Linked DNA regions of Homo sapiens: region 1 is linked to region 2. Evidence: promoter capture Hi-C in 16 types of primary human blood cells and fetal thymus (Javierre and others, 2016). All regions are on one chromosome and are shown on one strand. The core of a region is centred on a gene start or on the middle of the fragment in contact, and the rest is flanking DNA. Distances in the headings are between cores, read along the strand shown.

What was found. The method cuts DNA at HindIII sites, captures the fragments that hold promoters and counts their contacts. A CHiCAGO score of 5 or more calls a contact.
Region 1: a contact is called between a fragment that was not itself captured here and the fragment with the promoter of TMEM38B in region 2, in 1 of 17 cell types (naive CD8 T cells). The highest score is 6.6, in naive CD8 T cells.

What each region holds. Positions count from the first base shown.
Region 1 is chr9:104,981,880-104,984,579 of GRCh38, reverse strand. All of the region lies in intron 3 of CT70 (cancer/testis associated transcript 70), which reads left to right. Among named protein-coding and RNA genes, the nearest start is that of CT70, 8.6 kb to the left of the region's middle. The HindIII fragment of the contact is 3,395 bases long and covers 1-2,700 here.
Region 2 is chr9:105,693,188-105,695,887 of GRCh38, reverse strand. It overlaps TMEM38B (transmembrane protein 38B), which reads right to left and starts at 1,347. Exons shown (of 6, transcript NM_018112.3): 1 at 1,116-1,347. The coding sequence starts at 1,227. RefSeq lists a silencer at 1,244-1,513. The HindIII fragment of the contact is 6,405 bases long and covers 1-2,700 here.

The DNA.
Region 1 (2,700 bases), core at 188-2,687, 710 kb after region 2:
GTTGATATAAATGAAGTCTACAAACTGATAAACACTCAAAGCAGTCAATGTAGGTTATTTTATTCTCAAACCTGCTGCGGCTTGGACTTTTACCAAGTCCACTCTTCCATCCATAACCAGGATTTAATAATAGCTGTAATTATTAAATATTTATTCTGAGCATTGGGCTAGCATCTTATGTACTTTATCTCTTTCAATCTTCATAATAATATCTCGTGAAGTGGCAGCCTTGAAGATGAGGAAGTGGAGGCGATGGGCTGTTAGCCACTTTGCCCAAACTCCCCATTCTGATAAGCAGCAGGGCTGGCATGTGAACTCAACTTGTCTAACTCCAAAGTTCAGGCTCCGAAGTATTATTTAGAGTTCCTTCCCTCATTTCTGACATCGTATCTTCATTCAAATTTCCCCTCCATTTTTGGTTTCTGTACTTCTCATTCTAATAAATTACTTTTATAAATATTGCTTTATTGAACAAAGCCAATAGTTGTAATTATAAGAAAAACAACAATATCAGTTATCATTGGAGGGTTTACTGAATGTCTGTCCCTGAGCTGGACCCTCACAAACACAGTTAAATTCAGGTTTGAGGAATCCTGTACTCACATCTATTCTTCATTATCATCAATGTGTCAAGAAATAAGGGAAGAAAAATGAGAGAAAAACAAAACAACACTGGACTGAGAATCAAAAGTCCTGGAATTCTTTACTTGCAAAATTAACAGCCACTTTCTGTTTACTTTACAAAGTAATTGTGAGGCTTAAATTAGATAATGCATTTAATCATGCTTTGTAAACTAGTCAGATCTCTACAAGATGTTATAGTGAGCTATGTCAGTATTTAGTGTGTGATCTTGGCAAGCCATCATCTCTGAAGCTCGGTTTCATCACGTGAAATGGGAATCATAGATCCTACCACTCAAGGTTGTTGTGAGGATTAAGGACTGCCTGGTCCACAGGGCAGGGTAATTGGATCTGTATTTCACTGATACTCTTTTAAAGTTTGTTTTCAAGACTGCTTTCTTTCCAAGTGCTTTTCTTTCGCTTGTTCCTAATTATTTTCTGGCAATTTCTTCCACTCTCATCCCTGAGTTGAAGCACTCAGCTTTCTGGCCACCTCTGCATTTGTTACAGGATGGAAAGTCTTGACTGTGAGTTGTCTAGGTTCTTGGCACATTGAACAAAGAATTGAACAAAATGCACAAAGCAACAAAAGAATGAAGCAATGAGAGAAGACAGAAACAATGAAAGTGCAGATTTATTGAAGTGAAAGTTCATACTCCACAGAGTGGGAGCAGGCTCCAGCAAGCGGCTCTAGAGCCCCAACTACAATGTTCTTCTACTTGAGATGGAGTCTCACTCTGTCATCCAGGATGGAGTGCAGTGGTGTGATCTCAGCTCACTGCAACATCCGCCTCCCAGTTTAAGTGATTCTCCTGCCTCAGCCTCTCGAGTAGCTGGGATCACAGGTGTGCACCACCACACCAGGCTAATTTCTGTTTTTTTATTGTTGTTGTTGTTGGTAGAGATGGGGTTTCACCATGTTGGCCAGGCTGGTCTCCAACTCCTGGCCTCAAGTGATCCGCCCACCTCAGCCTCCCAAGGAGCTGGGATTACAGGCATGAGCCACCAAGCACGGCAGGGTTGCCATGTTCTTTAGAGTTTTTATTAAACTAAAAGAATTTGGTAACACCCCTAGGTACCCTTTAGAGGCCTCCAACTGGTTACACCCTATGAAGACCTGGCCTGTGGCCAATCAGAGGCTGAAGTGGAGACTTGGCCTGTGGTCAATCCGAGGCTAAAGTGGAAACTTCTATCTTGTTATCGCAAGAGTGAGGATGTGGCCTGTATGCTGCCTAATCTTGCCTAGAACTGGCTGCACCTGCTGTTCTTTTGCCATTTGTAACATAACAAATATCTTAACCCTTGGTTACCCTAACTCCCTATTTTCCTGTCTCACATTCACTTCCTTAAGGAGCCAACTGGCACACAGAAGCCCAACCATCACTTTACCTACAAGACTCCCACGTCTCTAGTCTGTGCTACCAATCTCCCCAGTTTCTAACTTTTCTCTTTTCTGAGATCTTCTAGCCCCATACTTGGGATCTTGTTAAAATCCAGCTTCTGATTTAGCAGGGCTGGGGTTGAGCCTGATTTTGCAGTTCTAGCCAGCTTCCAGGTGATGTCCATGCTGCTGGCCAATGAATTACACTTGAGAAGCGAGCATCTAGCTTAACTGCTACACCAGAAATCACCTGACCAGCATCTCTCAGATCCTGTAATCTTCACAGCCTTTTACTGGATCTTTTCAAAGAGACTGTCATAGGCTCTTAACCGTCTGGACTTGTGTGACAGAAGCCACTAACCTTCTCCTGATTCTGTCTCTTTCTCAATGGTGATAAAGCCTCCTCTACCCCCATTTTTAGGTAGGCACTTGGCCATCCGGAATAAAACACAAAGTGTCCTCGTCTTCCGTCCAGCTAGGAATGGCCATGTGACTACACTCTAGATATAAGCAGAAAGAGTTTGTGATACTTTTGGAAAGTTTCCTTAAAGGGAGGGAATAGGCCATTTTTCTCTCCTTTTCTTCCTTCCTGTTGGTTGCAATGGGGTCATGGTGACTGAAGCTCAACAGTCATCTAAGGCCAAGAGGCGGGTGAGGCAAGCAGAGCAGTAGTGTGGAGCACACCTGGCTTCTCCAGA
Region 2 (2,700 bases), core at 98-2,597:
AATGTGTTCTACTTTAATGCAGTAATACCATCCTCATCCAGGTCAAAATTTGTACCAACGATTTAAACTGAGCTACAAACTTCAACATAAATGAAAAATATTTCTGAGGTCTAAGGATTTTTTAAAACCAGTAAGTAGTCCATAAGAAAGATACAGCATCATCCTCCAGACCTCACTCATCAACTATCCGTAGGGCAAGGCAGATGAAAGACAGCAAGAACACAAAGAAAGTAGGCAAAGAAATGTCTGACCTCAAAGAAAGAAGAGGTCCATACAACTAAAAGCACAGTAGAATAACTACAAAAGTAAAGCAGTATTAGAGCAAACGCACCCTGGTGTAAAATCCAATAAAATACAACTACTGTCCCTTGATCGCATTGCTAAAAGAACTCAAAATGCTGTTTCAAGACTATATCCCCATTCTGCAGATAGTGAAACTACGCCAGGTAACTCTTGCTTGTACAGTGTCCGTCGTGACTGTGAAAAGGGGAACGCACTCGCTTCTCACATGCTAGGCAGGGTGTTAGGACACTGCGTGAAGGGGAATCCTGGTCTGGCTACAGGAGGCTTTTTGTTTCAGTGCTTGTACAACTTTCATAACTGGAGAGTAGTCCGCAACCATCTATTACTCCAAGAGACTGAGTCAGAAACCTGCTGTCTCCTCACATGACTTTCAAACACTGCGAGCGAGTGGCGACACTGCGAGCGAGTGGCGACACTGCGAGCGAGTGGCGGTACCGCGAGGAGGCCGCCCAAGCCCTGGGCTGGCGCGGATATCTGTGGTTCCGAAACGCTGCGGCAGCTTCTGTCAGTCCTGGGACTTCTGCGGGCGGTTGGCAAGGTCGGCCCTGCTCGCCCAGGCTACGGCCTCGCGGACCCCAGGTCACGCCTCCTTTGAGGAGTACTAGAGCCTCCGTCCTCCCCCACGCTGTTTCCCCATCTGCACTCAGTAAGTCAGACCAACCGGCCCTTGGCGCCCCTCCAACTCTACCATCGAACTGTCTGGGCTAGCGGCCACTCAGCCGCCCACCCGACCCACCCGACCCACCCGACTTAGACGGTCCTCGCCGTCAGGAGCACTCTGAGGGGTCCGGCCCGCGGCGCCCCGCACTCACCCGGCTGACGTTTCACCGCCATCACTGACACTAGATAGTGCGCGATGTCAAAAAAGGGAAACATGGACGTGCGGGAGAAGGCCAGAGCCAACTCGTCCCATGGAGAATCCATAACGACCACCGACCGCGGCAACCGAAGCAGCCGCGGCTACTGGTTCCCCGCGCTCGCGCGGTGAGGAGTAGGAGAGGGCACAGCCGCGGCCGCCCGCTCCTCCGCGCCGGCTCCAGCTCCGCGCGTGCGCCCTGGCGCCGAGGGGGCGGGGCCGCGCTTCGCGGGAGCCGCAGGCTCACCGGCGCTAGGCGGGTGGGCGGGGCGAGCGGGTTCCCCGCGGCTCCAGCCGGCTCTTGCCTCGGTTCTCCTAGTAAGGGTCCAGCGTCTTCTTGGTCCTGGGCGCAGTGCAGGACCTGGAGAGCGTGCAGATGAACAAAACACGGTCCTCAAGGGGAGACGCTCAGAGTTGGATTTATTTCTGTAAATTGATGTCATTCACCTAACATTTATCGAGCAACCACAGTGCAAGTCACACTGTGACTTACTGGAGATATAAAAATAAAACAATAATATCCTGACCTCAAGAACTATGCGTTCCCTGAAAGAGATTTTTTATAAAAAGAGAAAAAACGCACATAATGGTACAAAAGCAGGTACTGAGAAGTATAGCTGCCGTGCGAGAGCAGTTCGAAACGAAGATTACAATTCTGGGAAGTGAGTAAAGTGACATGTGAGCTGGACTTTAAAAGTTAAGTGAGAAACACAAGCTAGGTGGGAGATGGAGGGAGGTGTTTTGGGTTGACTACAAAGTGAGAAATGAGGTTGGGAAAAGTCCTCGAATGGCAGACAAAGCCAGGCAGTTTGGCTCCAGAGGTTAAATTCTTGATCAATCACTATGTTAAGCTCAGAGCCAGAATCTCTTCTCCTAATCTCTACGCTAACTGGGTTGTTTGGTGGAAGGTGAGGGAGTAGAGGTGCAACGAAGCAACAAGATTAAGAATAGATTGATGAGAAGCGACTGACAACGGAAAATCAGAGGGTATTCACTGGTCCAAGCAAAAGGTAGTGGAGGCTGTGGCAGCAGAAATTGAGACCAATTGTGGGAAACATGGGTAGAAGCAGAATATCGTCAGTGAGTGTCAGTCTGTACAGGCGGGAAAGGAAGCATTTGTCAAATAAAATGAGGAACGGGTGAGTAGGAGGATTGTGGTTGCATTCTGATAAATAGGAAACAAGAAGGAATAGGTTTGGGTAAGAAAAAAAACTAGCTTGGCACACTTATTTGATGTGTGAACAGATTATGCTGGCACCAGGAAATTGGAGAAACGTGATTAGCTGCTAGGTAGGTGACAGCTTCACGGGTGTATGCACTGCAAAAGGAGAATTTTTTTTATCTGAATATGTATTCATTAATTTTAATTCATTTAACAAAATGTTTTTTGCGTGCCTACTATGTAACCAGCATTTTGCTGGATGTCAGAAATACTGCCCTAAACACTAAGTGTTTAAAACGTAGGAAAATTGTAGTAAATCTCTACACTTCATTACTTATCAAGAAAGAATAGACTTGTTCAAATACTTTTCACGTGTGGT